Linked DNA regions of Homo sapiens: all the other regions are linked to region 2. The links are contacts of gene promoters, found by promoter capture Hi-C in blood cells and fetal thymus (Javierre and others, 2016). All regions are on one chromosome and are shown on one strand. The core of a region is centred on a gene start or on the middle of the fragment in contact, and the rest is flanking DNA. Distances in the headings are between cores, read along the strand shown.

The links. The method cuts DNA at HindIII sites, captures the fragments that hold promoters and counts their contacts. A CHiCAGO score of 5 or more calls a contact.
Region 1: a fragment that was not itself captured here is called in contact with the fragment with the promoter of ADAMTS16 in region 2 in 2 of 17 cell types (naive B cells and total B cells); the score reaches 11.2 in naive B cells.
Region 3: a contact is called between a fragment that was not itself captured here and the fragment with the promoter of ADAMTS16 in region 2, in 3 of 17 cell types (naive B cells, total B cells and naive CD8 T cells). The highest score is 19.0, in naive B cells.

Annotation. Positions count from the first base shown.
Region 1 is chr5:7,819,536-7,823,163 of GRCh38, forward strand. ADCY2 (adenylate cyclase 2) reads left to right here. Exons shown (of 25, transcript NM_020546.3): 24 at 1,030-1,154. Among named protein-coding and RNA genes, the nearest start is that of CFAP90, 30 kb to the right of the region's middle. The HindIII fragment of the contact is 2,198 bases long and covers 670-2,867 here.
Region 2 is chr5:5,139,078-5,142,838 of GRCh38, forward strand. ADAMTS16 (ADAM metallopeptidase with thrombospondin type 1 motif 16) reads left to right here and starts at 1,253. Exons shown (of 23, transcript NM_139056.4): 1 at 1,253-1,462; 2 at 1,587-1,689. The coding sequence starts at 1,391. It overlaps ADAMTS16-DT (ADAMTS16 divergent transcript), which reads right to left and starts at 977. Exons shown (of 4, transcript NR_109915.1): 1 at 879-977. ADAMTS16-AS1 (ADAMTS16 antisense RNA 1) reads right to left here. Exons shown (of 2, transcript NR_198969.1): 2 at 3,061-3,294. RefSeq lists an enhancer at 459-1,025. The HindIII fragment of the contact is 3,896 bases long and covers 1-3,431 here.
Region 3 is chr5:7,752,057-7,755,594 of GRCh38, forward strand. All of the region lies in intron 15 of ADCY2 (adenylate cyclase 2), which reads left to right. Among named protein-coding and RNA genes, the nearest start is that of CFAP90, 97 kb to the right of the region's middle. The HindIII fragment of the contact is 4,872 bases long and covers 1-3,538 here.

The DNA.
Region 1 (3,628 bases), core at 519-3,018, 2.7 Mb after region 2:
CCCTGATTGTCCAATAACTGATAAAGTCTATACCCTCAACCCCATATATCAGCCTTGTTAGATTTCTAAGGAAGCCTGAACTCAACGTTTCACTTGGCCTTTGATTCTCCCTTTCCCCCGACCCTCTGTCTCTCCCAGGAGGGGACTTCCCTGCTTGACCTCCATGCACTGTGACATCCAGAGGTAGTTCAGGGATAGCAAAGTGGAAGAATAATATTGCCAACAAAAGCGATGGGACAAATAATGAGGTGAATTCACTCCTAGCATCCTTTTCAGCATATCTAGCTGTAGAATCAGTTGGAACCACAAATCAAGCACACTCCTACACTAACTAGAGATGGCCATGTTGCCAGCAATAATCAGTCCAGGCTCTTCCCCACCCCCAGAGCTGCTGACCAAGCAGGGATGAGCAGTGGCCAGAAGAAAAGCTGAGCTGACAGATGCAAGGCTGGAACCGCAGGCCAGTGTCCAGCGGCTGACCCCTGGGTGCTCTGACCTGTGCCAGAGCTGGAATAAATTATTTGAGATGCCTAAACCAGAAGTGTGTTTTCCTGAGTATGCCACAAAATCAAAGGAGAATTTATTTCTTACCTCTTCTGTACCTGCAAAGGTACTGCTTGGAACAGTATTGGGGCTGTTTCCTGACCTAACTTTCCATTGCAAAGGGGAAGCTTTGGCCTGGCGCGGTGGCTCACTCCTGTAATCCCAGCACTTTGGGAGGCCAAGACAGGTGAATCTCCTGAGCTCAGGAGTTTGAGACCAGTCTGGGCAACATGGCAAAACTCTGTCTCTACCAAAAATACAAAAAATTAGCCAGGTGTGGTGGTGTGTTCCTGTAGCCCCAGCTACTTGGGAGGCTGAGGTGGCAGGATCGCTTGAGCCTGGGAGGTGAAGGTTGCAGTCAGCCAAGATTGCGCCACTGCACTCCAGCCTGGGTGACAGAATAAGACCCCATCTCAAAAAATAAAAAAAATAAAAAGACAATGGTTATAAGATGAATCTTGCTAACTCAACTCTGATGTGGCACAGGTATTAACCATGGACCTGTGATAGCTGGTGTGATTGGAGCTCAGAAGCCACAATATGATATCTGGGGCAACACTGTCAATGTGGCCAGTAGGATGGACAGCACCGGAGTCCTGGACAAAATACAGGTAATGCAGAGTGTGGTCTGCGCTGCCTGCATCAACCATGTCTGTTCTCTTGGGAACCATAAATAAGTATAATAAGGATACTAATATATTAAAACAAAGGAAAAAAGTAAACCTTGAAATTTACTTATCTTTTGGAGAACAATTTTTGGGGAAATGTCAGTTTCTGTATTGACTGTTAACAACAACAACAAAATTCTAACAATATAAAGGCTATTATATTTGTGAAAACAAATGATCCAGCAGCAACCAGCATGATGGCACAACAGCCCTGAGCATTCAGTACAGGAGAACCTTTATTACTTCTCCTGGTGCTAATACCTTAAAAAGGACTTTGCAAACGAGAGGGATCACATGCAACCAAAACCAGACACAACCCCTCACCTTCTTCTCTCAAGCTGAATTGGGAGGAGGGGAAGTGGTAGGCTTCGGAGAGGTGGGAGATGAAACAGAAGGTTGATATGAATGGCAGCTCTGGAATCCACCCAAGAGGGAGAAAGGAAGGTGTAACAAATGAAAAGCAGTGGTTGGAGAAAACTAAAATTATTTTATGTGACTATTCCCATTGCTCATTAAATCAATTATAATCGTGGTTAAAGTAACTATATTACAATAGCACTAATAATATTGTATTTTTAAAAGTATTTTAAAATCACTGAAAAGATAATAGAAAAAAAATCTGTTATTAGAACTATGCTGAAACTATCCCCCCAGTTACAAAAGAGCAGTGGTTCTGCCCAGGTTGACAGTGACAGAATCAAGGAAGAGCGGGAAGAGAAACAAGGGAGGCTACGAAGATGGCAGCTTGGTCAAGCCTGTTCTTCAATAATTCCGCACCCACGTCCTGTGCTCCTCCCACGTGCTGACTAGATGCTGTGGCTACAGCATGAGCAAGTCAAACTCAACTTTGCCCTTGTACAGCGAATGTTCTCTTGGAGATGACCGTTAGCCACCAGAAGTCACAGTGGTGCCACTGCAAGTGTGACTGTGCTGGAGGACTTCAGCTGGCCTGTGTGGCTGGGGAAGGCTCTGGAGAACTCGATTTTCAGACGACAGGCTGTGTGAGTAAGAAAGGTGTGGAACTGGAGACAGTGTGTGAAGACCACCTTTTCAGATGTGAAGTGAGCTGATGGAGCAGAAGGGGAAGGGAGTTCAAGGCTGCGTTCAAGAATTATCCTGAACAGGGGCAATGCTCACAGGAAGAACGGAGTGAGGGGACCAGTGAAAATAAAGGTGGTTTGAGGTTCCCCCGGTGAAGGAAGGAGATTGGAACAGTGTGTGGTTGGAGAGTGGGCTCACAGCTCAGTAGCAACATCTGCAGCATTAACGGAGAAAAGTGAAGAAGGAAGGGTGCAAGAGTGGAAACAGGAAGCTACAGTTCATTCCAGTATTCGGAAGAAAGAAGGGGATCTCAGCTAAGAAAAGAATAAGAAGAAGATAAAGAGGTGCATGTCATTACATTTTAAATCTACCATTATACTCTTGGATAATATATGTAGAATGGTAAACATGTTCACAAGGTTTAGATGTAACTTTAAATATATTTATAGCAAAAGCCATTTTGTATCATGGTTTGGAAATTTTGCTTAAACTGTGGTTAGAGATTATCTTTTTAATTTTCATCATTGAACCCACACCCAAATCCACTTAATATATTTTGGTTAATACTAGAATTTCATTCAATTTTACCATTATTACACCAAGAAGCTATCCTGAAGCTTGCTATCATAATGACAAAATGACACGCCAGTGTAATATCTGTCCCCCTCAGAGGCACAAACATCTAGCAACACAGAATGTGTTTCAGTGAAGAGCTTGGAGATACCAAGGTTTTATGGTCCTTCCTTGCCTTCTTCAAAATTCTGCTTCTATTAATAGCTAGAAATTAGTGAAATTCAATCTGCCTTCCAGTGAGCTCATCAGTGAGCTGATCATCAGCAGCTGGAACACATACACCTGATTGTACACAGTTCCAGACACCCAGAGAGAAGGGCTGGGATCTGCAAGTGAGAAGCGTGTGTGCATGTGTGTGTACATGCATGTGTGTGTGTGTGTGTGTCTGTGCTGAACACTCTATTTGTCTCACTCTCAGAAAGCAGTGGATTCACGTTTCACCCCCGTTATGTTACATTCTGGAAAATGAATTTCTGCTAAATGGAAAATTTATATGAAAGTCACCGGACTTGCACTATAGATTTATCATGGTGGTCCTCTGGGCTTTTGATAAATCCCTATAGTGTGTGTCTCAGCTTAGCCAAGACATGCGAATAGCCTTGCCTCCTAAAATTGACTGCACAGACTGGCACAGTCCTTTCCTCTTTAAAAGACTGTCCCCTCCATTGTTGTCAGAATGGGCTTTTTATTAAACCTCGACTTACCTGCCTTTCATATTTACCCCATCTCGTTCATTCCTTTGGTCTTTCTAAAGGATATCTTTAATTTTTGTATGGAATGGAGGAAACATTACTTCTAAGTAT
Region 2 (3,761 bases), core at 3-2,502:
AACAACTCCAGAGGCTCTGCCTTAAGAGCTGTAACACTCACCGCCTAGGTCTGCAGCTTCAATCCTGAGCCAGCGAGACCACGAACCCACCAGAAGGAAGAAACTCCGAACACATCTGAACATCAGAAGTAACAAACTCCAGACGCACCACCTTAAGAGCTGTACCCACTCACCGCGAGGGTATGCGGCTTCATTCTTGAAGTCAGTGAGACCAAGAACCCACCAATTCCAGACACACTATGGGCTCACAGCGTGTACTCGCGCACACGCAGTCAGGTGTGGATGTACACCCGCGCACACCCAGGCACATGTACACCCGCGCGCTCACACACCCCATCCAGCTACAGCAGAATTCTGGCCAGGCTGTTGACCGCACACCTGCTGCCTCCTTGGCCACCCTGTCCACACAGTAGCCCGATCGACCCCCGTGGCGGCCGAGACCCAGGCCCATCCGCAGCCCTGAGACCTCCCTAGGGATTGCACCCAGCAGCCAGTCACCGGCCTCCGCGGCCTGGCCAGTTGAGGGTGGCCGTGACCGCGGGGCCAGGAGCGCCGCCACATCTCGGGGCAAATGGCGCGGGGGAAGAGTTTCCTCCTCAGCCTCCCCGTCTCCGATCGCTCCGCAAACTCCAGAGCGAGGCACGCGCCTTTAAAGGCAGGTCCGCGGCTCTCCCACGTCCTGGCGCCCGGTTTTCCGCACCCAGTGTCCCCACAGCTGTGCCCGGGCACAGAGGCGCGGCCAGACCGCACTCCGCGGGCTGCAGGTGTCCCGGCCTCTGGCGGCGCCGGTGCGGCCCGGAGGTGGGAGCCCGCGGAGCCACTGCAGTAGCTGGAGTCCCGCCGAGTCCCCAGCCCCAAGGCAGGGCAGGAGCGCGCACCGGCCGGAGGTCCATGCTGAGCATCGCCCGCGCCGGTGCCCGGCAGCCTCTCCAACTGTGTGGTCCCCGCGCGGGCAGAGAGGCACGGACTGCAGGCCGTGGGCAGCTCCATCTTCCCGCGTCCTCCTCCTCTGGCGCTGCCCGCTGTCTCCCGCCTTCCCTCTGCTCCCCGCTCGCCTCCGCCTCAGCGCCCCGCTGACCTCGCCTCCTCCCCTCTGCTCTTTGTCCCTGCACTCTCCCCTCCTCGGTCCTCTGACCCCCCCGCCCTCACCTCCTCCCCTCCTCTCTCCCCTGCCCGCCCCGCGCTCTCCCACCGCTCCCGCCGCCCCCGCCGCCGCGGCTGCCACTCCGCCCCCCGCGCCGCACGGAGCTTCAGTAATAACCCCGGCGCGGCGGCGGAGTCGCTGTGGGGAATCCTCCCGCGCTCTGCCTGGGTCGGGTCCTCCCTGCCCGCTCGCACGCTGCCGGCCGGGGACCCTCCGGTGGCCCCTAGCCCCTCGGAGCGCTCCTGGATGAAGCCCCGCGCGCGCGGATGGCGGGGCTTGGCGGCGCTGTGGATGCTGTTGGCGCAGGTGGCCGAGCAGGTGAGTCCCGGGCGCTCCCACCAGCGCGGAAACCGCGGGTCCGGACAGCTGGAGGCGAGTCCCCCGCGGCTCCTCTCCCGCGGACCCCGCCGTCTCACCGCGATGTCGCCGCTGTTTTCCGCAGGCACCTGCGTGCGCCATGGGACCCGCAGCGGCAGCGCCTGGGAGCCCGAGCGTCCCGCGTCCTCCTCCACCCGCGGAGCGGCCGGGCTGGATGGAAAAGGGCGGTAAGTCCGTGAGGTGGGGGCTTCTAATCCTTGCCATTTAGCAGCTCGTAATCTCCGTGCCGCTGGTTTATTAGGTGCTGTGAATGTTCACGACTCTGTGGAACCCTACTTTTAAGATGCTGTTGTGAACTTTTTTTTTTTTTAACTGTATGAGCGAGCCCCGATGAGTGGATTTCCACCAATATTTACATTTTATTCCCTGGCAAAACGGTTTGCCAGAGTTATTGATATAACATTAGGAAAAAGGTGAGGAAGTTCATTTTATTTTATTCTAAAGAGCTTAGGAAGAATCTAAAGCTATTAATGTATGCATCAAAGCCGTCATAAAGAGCAAATTACTTTCTTTTCCGTCCCCTTCTACATCCTCGGATCCTCCTTCCCGTCCCCAACCTTTCCTCCTTCTCCTCCTTTATAGATTAAAATATTCCTCTATCGTTGCTTATTCTCAGTGAAGGAGATAAAAGAAGCGCTTAGCATCTCAATACCAAAGTTAATGCTCCAACAATCAGGGCGTACTTCAAACATAATAGTGCCTGAAATGGCTAATCAGCTGATTGTGACACCATCAGCAACGTTCATATCCTGGGCCACAATTTGACATGAGGGCAAGTCTTATTCTTTTTCAATGCATGCTTTTACTTCTGCCACTTACAAGTGACATTTGGAAATTTGCTGTCTTATGGAAAGGGATCTCTGTGTCTTCATACTGCATCAGGTAAATGAGAACGCAGGTGTGTCGCACTGGTTGCTAGGTGGTTTTTTAACCTGAACCCATCCAATGACAGTTAATAAATATTATTTTGCATTGTTACCAACAATAAATTGCCGTATCAAATGTTAATATTAATTGACTTTTATAGGAAGAACTAGGTTTCATTCTCTCAATGTATTTCCAGAAGATCTAGAAAATTAAAGTTAACAATTCAGAATTTCTCAGTATAGTTATTTCAATTTGATAAAATAACATAAAGGCAAGCACTTAATATATGCATTAACTTTTGAAATTATTCCCTGCCAAATGAGTACACAAATAGTATATAAGGTGACCGGTGTCAGATTGACGCTCACCATAGTACCTTTTTGAGAACCACCAGGGGGCGCTAGGTGCAAATGATATAAAATGTTAAAAAAAATTGTCACAGTGAATTTACAAGAGAAAGTTAATTATCTGTCCATTTACAGACTATCCTCTTGTGGTTGTCCTTGTCCTTTTTAGGGTTTTGCTTACAATACTAAAAGTTAATTCTTACAATTTTAAAGGTTAATTCTAATTCACCTTTTTAAGTAAGATTTTTGTAAAAAAAAAAAAAAAAATTCTAGTTCCCTAAAACCATGAAAATTCCAGAGGGACTCAGGAGATTTCCACAATAGTTTATGGCATTTATGAAGTTTTATTTAAGATAAAACACATTATAGACACAGAAGAAAGAAGAAGAAAAGCCAGGGCTTCGTGCCTAAGTGTGCTTTTCTCCTAAAGTGATTCAATCTGCTTCAGCATCCTCTCTGGGAGTGGGGTGCCAGTGTGCTGCTCTGAACACCTGGCACCACAGTTGTTGTCACAACGTATCGTCTCCATGACAACCACTTATCTGGCTTGGTAAGAACCTGAAGGGGAAGAGGCAAACCCTTCTTAGTGAAGTTCTAGCCCAGTGGACACAGCACACACCCTCCTCCCCTACCTTCTATGCACTTTAGCTCCTTAATTATAAATGGCTAATGTGTGAGTCTGGACATCCACAACAAGCTTTTATGCCACCAGAGAAAAGATCCTCCTCAACAGTGTTGCCTGTTTCCCTCTGACCTGGAGCAGAAGAGCTAGAAGACACTTGGTGACTGCTGGGGTCAACTTACTGTTGCCTGTCTAGGTATCCATTAGACAAGTTGGTTCTGAAATAACTAATTGTAGCCATACATTTTGTTTAAAGTAGCGCATGACTCAAACTATTATTGCAAATCATTCTTGGTGGCTGAAGTAATTACAAAATAGCAAAGAGAACAAAGCTGGAGGTGTCACACACTACCTACCTGACTTCAAACTATGCTACAAGGCTACAGTAACCAAAAAAGCATGG
Region 3 (3,538 bases), core at 752-3,251, 2.6 Mb after region 2:
GCATGTCAGCAAAAATGATGCAATGTGGTACCCAGTGGAGCAACAGTGCAGGGATGTGGCTCACCCAGGGCGAAAAGAAGAAACAGGTTGATTTTGTAAAATATGATTGATTGGCATAAAGAAGTCTTCCTATGGGAAATTAAAGGACAATTAAATAATCAAAGTACACATCACAGTCTTTGTGACATTAAATGTTACAAGTAATTATTGCTCCGGCTTATTCCTGCCATTCAGAATGACGGTCCTCAGCTAATTAAAATGCCAAAGTAGATGTTCCTTTAGGCAAATACACAAAAGTACATGTTTATATGAAACATGAAACCACTATATTTTCCAAGCAAGATTTTTAAGATGGATTTCGTTTTTCTAATAATAAAAGTTTGCTTCTCAGCCACTCTGATATCTTTATAACTTTTCTGGATTTTTTTTTTCATTTTATTAAGTTCACTTAATATGAGCTTCTACTTCTCTTCAAGTGTCTCATCTTATTGTTAAAATGGAAACTAATGAAACTGTAAATGAAGTCTACTTTTATAATGATTAAGTTAAATTATGAAGAATTAATTTTAGAGTGAAAAATTTAGATTTAACTTAATTTGAGAGACTACCAGTTGTTTCCATTGCAAGTGGATCAAAACAAGGGAAGAAAAAAAAAAGGAAAGAGAGAGGGAAGGAAGAGAAGCTGGCTGATATTTTTGGTGGAGCATGTATGAACATTTTGTTTTTCTGAGGAAGATCTGCATGTACTGGATTAAGAACATTGGGATTCATCCCACGTTTTTCCTACCACACCCCACTGCTCGTTGTCCCCATCATCAATTCTATGATAGGATTTTCCTTTTTTTTTTTTTTTTTTTTCTGAGACACAGTCTTGCTCTGTCACTCAGGCTGGAGTACAGTAGTGCAATCTCAGCTCACTGCAACCTCTGCCTCCCGGGTTCAAGCAGTTTTCCTGCTTCAGCCTCCTTAGTAGCTGGGATTACAGGCACCCGCCACCACACCCAGCTTATTTTTGTCTTTTTAGTAGAGACAGGGTTTCACCATGTTGGCCAGGATAGTCTCAAACTCCTGACCTCATGATCTGCCCATCTCAGCCTCCCAAAGTGCTGGGATTACAGGCGTGAGCCACAGTGCCTGGCTAGGATTTTCCTATATATTTCTTCTTTTATTACATCTCCCACTGCATTTAGTATCAATCCCTTGTTTGTTAATGGATGAATGTGATATTCACATCCAAGTGCATTTCTAGAAGGTACACGGTGAGCTCACTGTAAGTAAGAGCCGATCATGGGGTTCAGTGAGATGATCAAGGAAGGGAGGAAACAGATGTGGTTGAAATTATGCCAGGAGTTAAACCAAAGATCAAAGAAAATGACTCCACTGACTGGGCTCACAGCAGGCATTTTCTCATTTTCAGTTGAATAGTATCTTCCAAATAAAGGCCAAAATATTTTTTGAGATGTTGTCATTTATAACATTTAATTAGGATGGTCGGAATTTTGATAAACATTTTTCCACCAGAGCCTTTAATACTTAATCAAAAACAGGATAAACTGAAGCCAATGATCATATCAAGAGCCAAGTTGTAATTTTTCTACAGAGCTACACACTGAATCAAGGGTCTCCATTTTTCTTAATCAGGTTCCTTCCATTTTAGAATCTTAGTCCTGTTTCTCCTCTTATCCCCATCATTGGTTTCTTCTGCTCCCCCCACCAGCTTGATCCTCCACTTCCTCTTTCATCCCTGTCATTGCAACTGTCACCTCTCTGTTCTCTTCTACTTTCTTGTCCTTGCCAGCAGCAATGCCTACCAATTTTTACACTTCAGAACAGGTTTACTTACCTTGTCACTGCTTGGTGACAAGGAAAGATACCGCCTGTCTCCCTGACCTCTGGAACAACACATTTGGCATAAGTTTTAAAACAATTGTGAGGGAGAACTTTGAGGTATGCATGGAAAATGCATGGGTGAATAATTGAACCAAGCGCATCCTGAACCTGTTGTGCCAAACCCATGTCTGCCAAACCCCCATGCGTCTAGTAAGTAGCTGCAAGTGCTGCCGATTCGTCATTTTGCCTGGCATGTCACACGAACAGAAAAAAATTCCTGCATATCTGCCCGGGTCTGTTTTAGTAAGTTACTAGCCTATGAGCAGAATATAACATATTCCTATTAGATTAGCATATTTGACAAGATTATCACCACGTATTTTTCTAAATCTTCAAACACAGTAACTTGTTTTAATTTTGTAATTTCAAAAATTTGTCTGTGTAATAACTAGCTAATATTTTACCTAATTGACAGTGATATGCAATCTTAGCTAGATGTACATTTTCCCCTGAAGTAATAAACTTTTTAAATGTTCTACTGTTAACATTTTCATTATCATATCTATTGATAATTTCTGTGTACAGAAATTATCATAATTTCACAAATATAAGAGCATTGATTTTAATAATTTTCTCTTAAAGGTACTAACTGTAGTCAATCTGGATGTGAATATATAAATACTGTCTTAATTTGTGAGAATCAAACCAAATGCCATTATCTAATGGAATCTGAGCTAGATGAGCATAATATTTCATTTGAAGCTCGGCTCTTCATATTGTATTATAGGTTGGTGCAAAAGTAGTTGCGGTTTAAAGGTAATGGCAAAAAACAAAACAAACAAACAAAAAAAACTCAGCTACTCAGGAGGCTGAGACAGGAGAATCGCTTGAACCTAGGAGGCGGAGGTTGCAGTGAGCAGAGATCGTGCCATTGAACTCCAGCCTGAGTGGTGAGAGAGCAAGACTCCGTCTCAGGAAAAAAAAAAAGAAAAAACAAAACAAAACAAAACAAAAAACCTTCTTCTACGGAACACAGATCTGACTGTGTTTTGTGATATTAGTATTATTAGAAGTAGCATGCATTAAACAATAATGATAACCATTCGTGGGTGGATGTTCTCTGGCTACCTGACCCTCTAAGATGCTGCATGTTCAGAGCATTAAGGGACATCTTGCTGCATGACAGATTTCCTGCCATCACCAACCCCTATCCAAACCTGCTCTTAAGTAGAAGCGTCAAGTACAGATCTGGTTCTTCTGTTGCCGGTGATCAGATGTCCTGCAGAGCTGGGCCGAGGGCGCCCCCTGCCGCCAGTCAGCAGTCCAGCTCTGGGCAGCCTGTGCGGCTGAGGGCAGCAGTGGCTCAAGCTCCCTGGTAGGTACTCAGAGAAATGAGACGAGGGCGCAGGAAAATCAGCCCAAGAAGTGAACCCGGAACCTGGTCCTGCGTCTCCCTCAGGGGGGCATGTGCGCTGTACACAAACATTGTTCATCTTTTCCTATCAGGAGCTGGAAGGAAGAAAAAAAAAAACATGGTGGAAAGGAGTAGAGAGGAGGAGATTTTGTTGTTGTTTACATAGATATAAAGGAAATAGGATTTTGGTCACTAAAATGTTTCTAAGAAACATTGTGTTTTCTTCATTGAAATAACAGGAAGAGCTAACACTTGTAAGTCCTGTTGCACGCACCTTCTCTAACTCGTTTAAAC